Regions from separate parts of the Homo sapiens genome. Here regions 1 and 2 are each linked to region 3. Evidence: promoter capture Hi-C in 16 types of primary human blood cells and fetal thymus (Javierre and others, 2016). All regions are on one chromosome and are shown on one strand. The core of a region is centred on a gene start or on the middle of the fragment in contact, and the rest is flanking DNA. Distances in the headings are between cores, read along the strand shown.

Evidence for each region. The method cuts DNA at HindIII sites, captures the fragments that hold promoters and counts their contacts. A CHiCAGO score of 5 or more calls a contact.
Region 1: a fragment that was not itself captured here is called in contact with the fragment with the promoter of KLF13 in region 3 in 1 of 17 cell types (total CD8 T cells); the score reaches 5.5 in total CD8 T cells.
Region 2: a contact is called between a fragment that was not itself captured here and the fragment with the promoter of KLF13 in region 3, in 1 of 17 cell types (M2 macrophages). The highest score is 6.3, in M2 macrophages.

What each region holds. Positions count from the first base shown.
Region 1 is chr15:31,504,894-31,508,257 of GRCh38, forward strand. All of the region lies in intron 8 of OTUD7A (OTU deubiquitinase 7A), which reads right to left. Among named protein-coding and RNA genes, the nearest start is that of KLF13, 180 kb to the left of the region's middle. The HindIII fragment of the contact is 1,408 bases long and covers 1,351-2,758 here.
Region 2 is chr15:31,135,001-31,138,358 of GRCh38, forward strand. It overlaps a transcript of TRPM1 not described here. Among named protein-coding and RNA genes, the nearest start is that of TRPM1, 35 kb to the left of the region's middle. The HindIII fragment of the contact is 3,931 bases long and covers 1-3,331 here.
Region 3 is chr15:31,325,112-31,328,962 of GRCh38, forward strand. KLF13 (KLF transcription factor 13) reads left to right here and starts at 1,724. Exons shown (of 2, transcript NM_015995.4): 1 at 1,724-2,678. The coding sequence starts at 2,102. RefSeq lists a promoter at 849-1,905 and an enhancer at 933-1,446. The HindIII fragment of the contact is 12,301 bases long and covers 1-3,851 here.

The DNA.
Region 1 (3,364 bases), core at 805-3,304, 180 kb after region 3:
TACCTTTTTTTTTTTGAGACAGAGTCTTGCTTTGTTACCCAGCCTGGAGTGCAGTGGCGTTATCTCAGCTCAATGCAACCTGCTTGAAATGTTTGTTTTCTGGTGGTGTAAAGAAATAGCACTTGAATATAAATTTTTTTAGTAAGGCTATTTTTATATTTTTTGTAGAAAGGGTATACTTGCTCGCAGTTTTGTTATGAGAGTATATTGAATAAAGGAGATAAGGTTATTTATAACCTGACATGTCCACCTTATTGCTGTGTCCAGTTTTTATTGGGTGGAATGGGATTTTACATTTTGTATTTGTTTTGATTGGTTAGTAACTTTGAATTTTTTAAAAGAGGCAAACGCAGAGGAGAATAAAGGAAGGAATGTTGAGAAAGGTAAAAATACTTTTAAATAAGGAAGAGGAACAGGATGTGACTTACTGCTTTCTTGGACTAGTATAAGTATGCTAGGGCAAATATTTAGGCTAAATTGTGGGAGCTAAGAATATAAAGTATACTGATTTTTTTATTATGGCTAGCAGATATTTAAGAATCTTAGCACAGGTCTTTGAATAAATTTTGCTTCTAAGAGAAGTTACTATTTATTTTTAATTAGATGGGGAGGAAAGGCTTTGAAGAGAAAACTCTATTTTACTTTTTACAATTCTCCCTCTTATAATTTTTTTTTAATTTGTCTGTTTTAATAGCTTTAAGAGAAGTAATTTTTCGAATAGGGTGGAGGAGAGTTAGGAGTTAACTTTGTAAGAGTGGTAGAGATAAGTTTTTGTATAAAATTTTGAAGGCAGGGAATAACATAATAGCTTATAAGTATATTAATAAGAGCGAACAAGGTGAGAATTGAAGTTAATTTTTTTTTTTTTTTTTTTGAGGTGGAGTCTCACTCTGTCGCCCAGGCTGGAGTGCAGTGGCATGATCTCGGCTCACTGCAAGCTCCACCTCCCGGGTTCACGCCATTCTCCTGCCTCAGCCTCCCTGGTAGCTGGGACTACAGGCGCCCGCCACCACGCCCGGCTAATTTTTTGTATTTTTAGTAGAGACGTGTTAGCCAGGATGGTCTTGATCTCCTGACCTCGTGATCCACCTGCCTCGGCCTCCCAAAGTGCTGGGATTACAGACGTGAGCCACCATGCCTGGCCACAATTTTTTTTTTTACTTATCGAATTAATGTTTTATTATTTTAGAAAAAGGGTTATTTATTTTAGAATTTTTGGCAAGTTTATTGGATAGTGCTGTTAATTTTTGTAGTGCTTTTGTTATAGTTTTGTTAGGGGCAGTATTAGGAATAAAGGTACAATATTGAGTTTTAATTATGACTTTTTTTTTTTGCTGATATTATATTTAAAGCTTTTTTTAAGGCAATTTGTCTGGTAGGTCCTAATTGCTTAGCTATTTTTTTGATGGCGTTTTCAGTGTAATTTATGAATTGTTGCTGATTGTAACAGATACAGTTTAGTTTACATTTTTTAAATTCATACTTACCAGAATAACGTGGACTTAAATTTTGCAGCTATTTGATTTTGTATTTTAAATTTATTTGAAATTTTTTTTACAGGATTTTAATAGCATTTATATAAACTTGAGGATTAAAGGACTTACAAGGAATTTTTTTTGGCCTGCGGTGTTTTGTTTTTATTTTTTTAGATTGATGAAATGCTAGAGTGAAGGACAGCTAACTGGATTAGTACTGTTTCAAATATTTGGCACAGCGTTTAGTAAAGGTCCTTTACAGTACTACCATATATTTGCTTGGGGATGGCTAAGCATGGATTGATGGGCGAGCTTTTGGAAAAAGCATTTTTTAAATGCTTTTAAGGAATATTAAATTTTTTTCTTGCCATGAGAGGCACAGTGTAAGTTTGGCATTTAGAAAAGGTGCAAGCTGGATTGTCCTCAGGGGCTGACCCGCACAGTGTTAAATTTTAGGAAATAGCAGAGAGAGCTTGGCATGATGGATTATTTTAAGCAGTGGGATTTTGAAAAAGAGCTACTATATAGTTTATATTTGGTTGATGAGGTGACCATTTAAGTGGAAAGGGGATAATTTGGGCCTCTGGAGTACCATGTGTACAAATGTAATAGTGTAATAATTGTTTTTAAAGTGTGAATGGAATATTTTAGCTAGGCATTTGTATTTTGATGTATTGTTTTGATGGCTAAGGTCTGTCTTTAATTTTTTATTTTTATAATAGGCATTCTACTTTTATTAGATGCAGGAGTAACTGGTGTCGGATTTAGAACTTAGGCTACTGAAGAAGGGGAAGATGGGGGAATAATGTGTATTTTAAAAATATTTAGGGTTTTTAAAAATTTATGTCAAATTTCTATATTATAGAAGTGATTAAGGGTAGGTTTAGAGTTAGTTAAGGTGGAGGTGGTGACAGAAGGACAGGGTTATATTGAGAAGGTTGGGTAGGTTTTTTAATGAAATAGATGAAGGGTTTTAGATCTGTATGTTTTTTTTGTGTGTGTGTGGAAGTTTAACTTTGCTCTTGAGTAATTTAAAGGACGTCGTTCCATTTATTATAAGGTTGTTAGGCTGTAGTGTATCCGGAGTTGGTTCCTTCCAGTGGCTTTGTGGTCTCACTGACTTCAAGAATGAAGTCGCGTGTTACACCTCTTAAGTGTGGCACGGACCCAAAGAGTGAGCAGCAGCAAGATTTATTGTGGAGAGAGAAAGAACAAAGGTTCTAAACCATGGAACAGGACCCGAGCAGGTTGCTGCCGCTGCTGGCTGGGGGGCGGGGGTGGCAAGCTTTTATTCCCTTATTGGCCCCTCCCATGTTCCATTTCTGTCCTATCAGAATGTCCTTTTTTCAATCTTCCCTGTCACTGGCTACTTTTAGGATTCTGCTGATTGGTGCGTTTTACAGAGCACTGATTGGTGTGTTTTACAGTCCTAGCTACAGAGTGCTGATTGGTGCATTTTACAATCCTCTTGTAAGACAGAAAAGTTCTCCAAGTCCCCACTCAACCCAGGAAGTCCAGCTGGCTTCACCTCTCAGTAGGAGCAGAAAATTGGCGTTTTGGCTGCAGGTGATTATAACAATAAGTGTTAGGGGTAATTGTGTTAATTAGAGGGCCAGGACATAAATATTTGTGTGAAAAGGCTAGCTGTCATTGATTTTTTAATATTTTTACAAGGTATGATAGAGCAAGCATTAAAGGCAATGGTTTGAGGTGAGTTAGATTTAGTTACATTAATAACAAGGGAGCTATAACAGAATAAGGAAAGGAAAGGAAGTAATAGAGAAAGTATATGAAAATTAAGCTTTTTAAAATTTTAACTTAGTAGGGCTTGATTTTAGTATAGTAACCTAAGATGTTTTCTTGATTTGAGTATAGTGGGTCCTTTTTTT
Region 2 (3,358 bases), core at 116-2,615, 190 kb before region 3:
AAGGAAAAAAAAAAGAGATTGGCTCAACTCCCTGGTTATCCCCCATATATACAGGAAGGATACATATGATTAAACTTTTGTTTGTTTCTCTTGTTATCTGTCTTTTGTTACAAGAAGTCCCGGTAAGAACTCATGAAGGGTGAAGGAGAAAATTATTTTTCCTTCCCTATGATGCCATCTTTAGAAGTAAACACTGACGAAAACCCTAGATATGTGCACACATTCTGTATCCATACACATTACTACATGTGCACTCAAGCAGAGAATTATGGAAGGTTACACACCACCATAGCCAATATGGGCTTCCTAGGAAGAAAGGAGAAGGCCAAATAAAATAAACACCTTATTAAAATATTTCTAAACATCATCATGTTGAACATGATAAATGCATACAATTTTTACTTGTCAATTAAAAAAATTAAAAATAAATAAAATTTTTAAATTAAAAAAAGAGAATGATCCATCCTACCCAAGTACATGCATATGGATGAAATAATTAGAAATGCAAGATAGAATTAGATCTAAATCTACTAAGTTTGTAGGGATACCCATTGCTATAGTGTGGCTATTTTCCCCTCCAAATCTCATGCTGTAATTTTATCTCCAGTGTTGGAGGTGGGGCCTAGTGGGAGGTGTTTGCGTCATGGGGGCAGGTCCCTCAGGAGTATCTTGGTGCCGTCATCCTTGCAGTAATGAGTGAACTCTCACTCTGTTGGTTTCTACAACAGCGTATTGTGAAGAAGAGCCTGGCACCTCTCTCCTTTACTTCCTCTCTCGCCACATGATCTCTGCACACACCGGCTCCTCTTCCTCTTCCACCATGAGTGGAGGCAGCCTGAAGCCCTCACAGGAAGCAGACGCTGGCTCCATGCTTCCTATACAGCCTGCAGAACTGTGAGATTTCTTTATAAATTACCCAGCCTCAGGTATTCCTTTACAGTAATACAAAATGGACAAAGACACCCTTGAAAAAGTAAGTGGAGCAGTAATAAAGTTGCATAGTGATGAGAATTGTGTAATTTTAGTTCAGTAAAAACAAATCTGTCAACAAATCCCTGAACGTGTATAGGCGTTTTGGTCTGTGTGTGTAGAACTCCGAGGAAGGCGTGGCCATGGTCATGTTGGCCATCTCCTTCTTATCTCTGGGAGAGTGGGAGGAGGGGGTGGGAGGAGGTTGCAGCGCCTCCTCTGGATGGGTGGTAGGAATGGGGAGAGCATCGGATCCAGGCTCCATGGGGTCACCAAGGCAGCAGGAGGTGTCTGGAGGCGGAGACATTAGCTCTGTGTTTCCATGTGCCTGTCTCTCCCACACCAGCCCCTGCCGTGCTTGCTGTTTGAGCATGGGGACTCTTGTCTTCCACCACAAGGTGGATGTCACAGCACCATTTATAATCGGAAGGCATTTGTAGCACTTTATTGTTCAAACAAGCATCTCTTTCAAGCACATGGAATGCCATGTGTGGTAAATCCAGTTCCCACCCTCTACGAGGTAACTGATCTGCCATCATCACAGATTGGGTTAGGCTGCTACTGAAACAGACAATGTTGCCATTGTGGGGGCCAAGGCCCTAATTCACCAAATGGGCCACCTTCAGTCTTCAATCAGCATGATAATAAAGTTCCCTCTGTTTTAATCCTTAACCCGAACGAAGTTCCATCTCCCTGTCCTTGTCTCATAAGGAAAGTCACTTTGAAAAGACCAATCTGCTTTTTGCTGTTTGTTTCTGCTTTCCTCAGCCGCCCCCACCCTTTTTTTTTTTTTTGCCTATAAAGCCAACCTCCTCTGCTCAGCTCATTGGAACACTAATTCTTTTTTATGGAATAAAGTATTGCCCAATTCTAGAATTGCAAATAAAGCCAACTGAGGTATTTAAACTAAGTTTGCTGTAATTTCTTCTTTTGACAGATCTGGCAACCAAGGAAGGAACCTGAAAGAGAGAGATCTGACAACCCTGAGACCCCTGCAGGAGCACAGGGAAGGCCCTGCTCGCTCTACCTTTTGGGGAGGTCCCTGTCTTCCTCATGGAGTCCTGAGAAGTTCTGCTCTCTTTTGCATTAGTGCTCTCTGATATTTTTGGCATTTGGAGTACCAAGGTTAATTTGTGCTGTGGCAGGGCACACCACCTTTCGGTTTGCAGTGACTGAGGAGTCACTGTGGCAACAAAACTGTCATTTCTAAGGTAACTGATAACAGTGGCAGTAAGTGGTTATTACTGGAGGGATCCTCTTTATTTCTTCTCTTCTCAATGGTGAGGTCTCAGAGCAAAAGTCATCGTGGCTCTGAGATACCCAAGAGCCAACATAAACATGGGATCTCTAATTTCTAAAGATCTTAGTACTCTGCCTTCTGATATGCCTGCCTTTTTCATGGACAAGAATTATGGCCCCAGAAGCTGCAGATATTCTTAAAAGTGGCAAAGTCTTACTAAAGATAATTCAGAATGACAATGGCTGTTATATGGAATGTTCCAGGTGAACACAAAACTGGTTATCTAAGAAGTGCACTTGAGTCTCAAGCCCCTTGAATTAGGCAGGGAGAATGGGATTATTATTCTAACAGGCATTCAGAAGTCTCAAAGAGACAACAAGATTCTAAAATTGCTTTTTAAAAAATTCACTGTGAAGAGCTAATAAAAAGCTAAAAGTGCAAGGCATCACCCATACCAAGGACAGTAAAACTGACATGACCCCTACTGCTCCTCTCTATCCTATTTTGCCTAAATATTCACAATCTATTAACTTTCTGTCGGAATTGCCTATATTCTCAGAAGAAAACAGTTAAGCAGTTTTCTTATAAGAGAAAACCACCCCAAACTCCAGGAAATAATACTCAAGTGACTTATATTCCCTGGATAAAAATAGAGCTCAGAGCCATAGTTTAAAATTTTCCTAAACCTAGAAAAAACCTACGGAAGTTTTCTGAAGAATTTGGGATCTCAACTAGAACTTGTGACCCTGGGTTATCTGATCTCTACCAACTAACCCGCATGTGTGTGGGAACTGGGGAAGCCCAAACATGGAAGAAAGAGGCAGAATGATATTACCTCACAAGCCCTAACTTATGGGCCAAGCAAAGCCTGAAAAATGACCATTGAAAGCCATTCTTGAAGAGCCTCAGCTCCATGGCAACCAACAACCTAGGGTGGCCTTTGGGTCCCTGAAACAATGGTTTCCAGAAAATTGTTGTCATTGGTGCAAACAACCAGGGCACTGGAAAGGGGGCCGCCCTCACAAAGATTTTGAGGGAAGCTCATAAAAAGAGCCTGCCAGCCCTCTGACAATCTTCGTATTAACCACCAAGACTGATGGGCCTCCAAGGGAAGCTCTGATAAGCTTCCTCCAGTTATCCAGTCTGAGT
Region 3 (3,851 bases), core at 474-2,973:
CAGGACACACGTCTCTTATTAAATGTCATCAACACAATCTGCCTGGAAGAAACACGATTACTTTCTACCAAGCACAGACCCTCCTAAAGGGACCAGACCCAGTCCAGCACCTTTAGTCTCCCCAGAGGGTAGCAACTCAATCAGCGAGACCGCATTTCAGGGTTTTAGTTACAGATACTGAGGGTGCTCAAACATCCATGCAGTTTGCTGTTCACCGTAACACGCAACCCAGAATGGCCGTTTCGGTCCCTCGTCGGTTACCTGAAAACCAGTCTTACTGAGCTCCAACCCCAAATTAATTTGGTGAGAACTCGAACTCGGCTATTAACCTTAATTCTGAGAGAAGAATGACACCCCCCTCCCACTGCGAGGGTCCACTGAGGGTGAGTGCCCGGGCTCCTTCATTCTCCAGGCTCCTCTCAGAACACAGCAAGGGTGGCTGACTCCTTCGAACGTCCATTAAGCACAATGCAACGGGGCGAGGCAGTAGGGGGTTTGCTGAGCCCGGTTCCGCGGCGGTGGGAAGTTATTCACCGGCGTCTCCGAGGACGGCCCAGGCCTGGAGAATGGCTGGGGCCGCGGGCTGGGGTAGGGGTTACCGTGAGAGTCAAGGGCAAGGTGGCCCAGCCCGGGCTGGGAGGCGCGGGCTGGGCGCAGCCGAGCATTTCCTCCGGGAGGCCCAGACAGCGGGCGGGTGGGGCGCGGTGGGCGGGGTCCTCGCAGCTGGTGGCGTTTGAAGCCCCCCCGACCGCGGTGGGAGAGGGGCAGCCTAGAAGAGTTGGCAGCGGGCCTGCGGCGGGATGGGGAGGAAGGGGCCCCGCGTTCCCTCAGCAGCGGCGCCGGCCGCCCTGGCACGTAGTTCGCTTCTGGAGGCACAGGCCGCGGTGGGCGCGCCACCCGGGCTGCCAGGCTCACCGCCAGCCGAGGCCAGTCCTGCTCGGGCTGACCCGAGCTGAAGGGCAGCGCGGCCGCACCCCGGACCCCAGGAACGAGCCCGAGTCTGTCCCTCCCGCGGGAGCTGCCCCGCCCGGACTCCCGGAGCTCTGCAAGGCAGGGGCGTGGGGAGGGCGAGCGGCCTGAGGCTCTAGGCGCGGCCACCCGGCAAGCCGGCGGCGGAGGGCGCGGCGCGAGTGCGTTCCGCCCCTAGGCAGCCCCGCGCCCGGCCGGGCAGACACGCCTCCCCGCCGGCGCCCATCGCGGGAGGAACAAATGGCGCCCTCCAGAAACCGCTCCCCTCCATGCCGGGGGCCAAGGCTGTCACCACATAAAAGCTCCGGCAGAGAAGTGCTCGCTGTGTCCCCGCCGCGGGGGGTACAAGCAGCCGCTCCGCGCCGCGACTACCCGGCCCGCCGCCCCCGGACGTCATGCGTCAGCGCGCCCCGCTCCAGTTTCCGCCCCTCCTCCCACCGGCCCAGGGGACACGCCCACTGGCGCGCGCAGGGCCCGGGACCGGGCACGCCCCTCTAACGGCTCGGATTGGCCTGGCCGTGCACTCACGGACCAATGGCGTCTGTCCCGGCCCTCGGTCACGCCCCCTTGCCCAGGCGCGGGCACGCGACCGCTCCGTTCCGCCGGTGCGCGCTCTGGGGTCCCCGCCCCCTCCGCGCGCGCAGCTCCCCGCAGCCGCCGCCGCCTGTAACCTGCGCCGCCAGGATGTGGCTGGGGGCTGACGTCGGGTCCAGATGTGGCCCCGGCCCCGCCCACCCCCGGGGCCGGGCCGCCCACACGGAGCCGCGGCGCGCACGGCAGCTGTCCCGCCTGCCACAATGCGCGGCGAAGCTGCGGCCGCGACTTGGCGAGGTGGTCCCTAACGTTGCCGCTCGGCATCCTTAGAACCGGCCGCCCCTGACGCCGCGCGGGGACCCCAGTCGCCCGCGCGCCCCATGCGCTCACTCTTCGGTGCCCGGCCGGGCCGGCGCCTCGCAGACGCGGAGCCGCGCGGGTGACGGCACAGGCGGCTGCGCGCCCAGCCCAGCCCAGCCCAGCCCGAGGAGAGGGCGCGCCGCGCCCCCGCCCCCCGCCCGCTCTCCCGAGGCCGTGGGTGCGGATGCGCGGCTGACGACTCGCAGCAAGAGCACCGCCGCCGGCCCCAGCCCGCAGCATGGCAGCCGCCGCCTATGTGGACCACTTCGCCGCCGAGTGCCTCGTGTCCATGTCGAGCCGCGCGGTCGTGCACGGGCCGCGGGAGGGGCCGGAGTCCCGGCCCGAGGGCGCGGCCGTGGCCGCCACCCCCACGCTGCCCCGCGTCGAGGAGCGCCGCGACGGTAAGGACAGCGCCTCGCTCTTCGTGGTGGCGCGGATCCTAGCGGACCTCAACCAGCAAGCGCCGGCGCCCGCCCCGGCGGAGCGCAGGGAGGGCGCCGCGGCCCGGAAGGCGAGGACCCCCTGCCGCCTGCCGCCGCCCGCCCCCGAGCCCACCTCCCCCGGCGCCGAAGGCGCGGCGGCCGCGCCCCCCAGCCCGGCGTGGAGCGAGCCGGAGCCCGAGGCGGGGCTGGAGCCCGAGCGGGAGCCGGGGCCCGCGGGGAGCGGCGAGCCCGGCCTCAGACAAAGGGTCCGGCGGGGCCGAAGTCGCGCCGACCTCGAGTCCCCGCAGAGGAAGCACAAGTGCCACTACGCGGGCTGCGAGAAAGTTTACGGGAAATCTTCGCACCTCAAGGCGCACCTGAGAACTCACACAGGTCAGTGGGGCGGCGCGGGCGCCCGGATCGCGCGGACGGGGTCGGCGCGAGCTGCCCGACCACGCCCCCGGAGTCCCCGATGGGGCGCGAGGTGGGGGCCGGGCGGGCCGGAACGCCCGGGGCCTCGCCCCTTCCCCTGCCGCTCCGACCCGCGGCTGGCCCCGCGCGTCGCGCGAGGCGGGTCTTGGCTCTCGGAGCCGGCGCCCGCCAGGCGACCGCGCCCCCGCCGGGCACGCCCCCTCCCCGGGCGCGCTCGGGTGGGGCCGCGGGGGCGGATATAGTCATCTGGGCTGGGGGCGGGGACCCCTCCCGGCCGGGAGGCGGCGCGGGCAGGTGCGGGCGGCCTGGGTGTGGACCGCAGGCGGCACTCGTGACGGTGGGGCGCCCGGAGCGGGGGCAGGGGACGCTCTCCGGGGTCCCTCCTCGTTTCCTCCCCCGCTGCCCGGGCGCGCGCTCAGGAGGGGAGGGGCCGGCCCCGGCGCGCGGCGGGCGAAGTTCACGCAGGGACAAGGTTTCCTTCGCCACTCGGCACATTCTTCGCTCTCTTCTTCCTGTAATTTTTCCAGCGCTCTAAGGTTTAATTTGTCGTAACCAAAGTCAGCGGCGGCGCTTGGCGATGCGGGGGGCGGTCCCGGGTCCCGCTCCCCGCCTGCGGCTCTTTGTGGGAGCCCCCGCCCATCCGGCCCGGCGGGGGCGCGCCCGGCCCTAGGCTCCTCGGCCTCGAGGCTCTCTCCGGAAAGGAATGCCCTGGCCGCTGCCCATCCTCCGTGCTGCCCTCTCGCCTGCCCACCTCTCACCTGCCCTGGGCCGGTGCGGGGCGGGCGGCACCTGCACCAGGGCGGGCGCTGAGCCTCCAGCCTGGGGATCACCGCCCGCCCCCGCCAGCCCAGCGGCAACAGTTCCCACGCGCGGCCCGATACTTTGTAGTTGATTCATCTGTGGCGGTTCCCTCCCCCCTTTTTGTTTCGTTTTTAACATAAAGATGAAAATATTTTAATGGACGGCAATCCTTCCCCATTTTGGTGTAAAGAATTGTATGCTTCCTCTGAGCTCACGTGAGTTCTTCTGTGACACTCACCTCTTCTACCTTGGGGGCAGGCTCAAAACCCGTCTACTGAATACTGTTGTCTTGTGACCAAGGGTGGTGGTCTCTCATTTGTAAAATAGTTCACA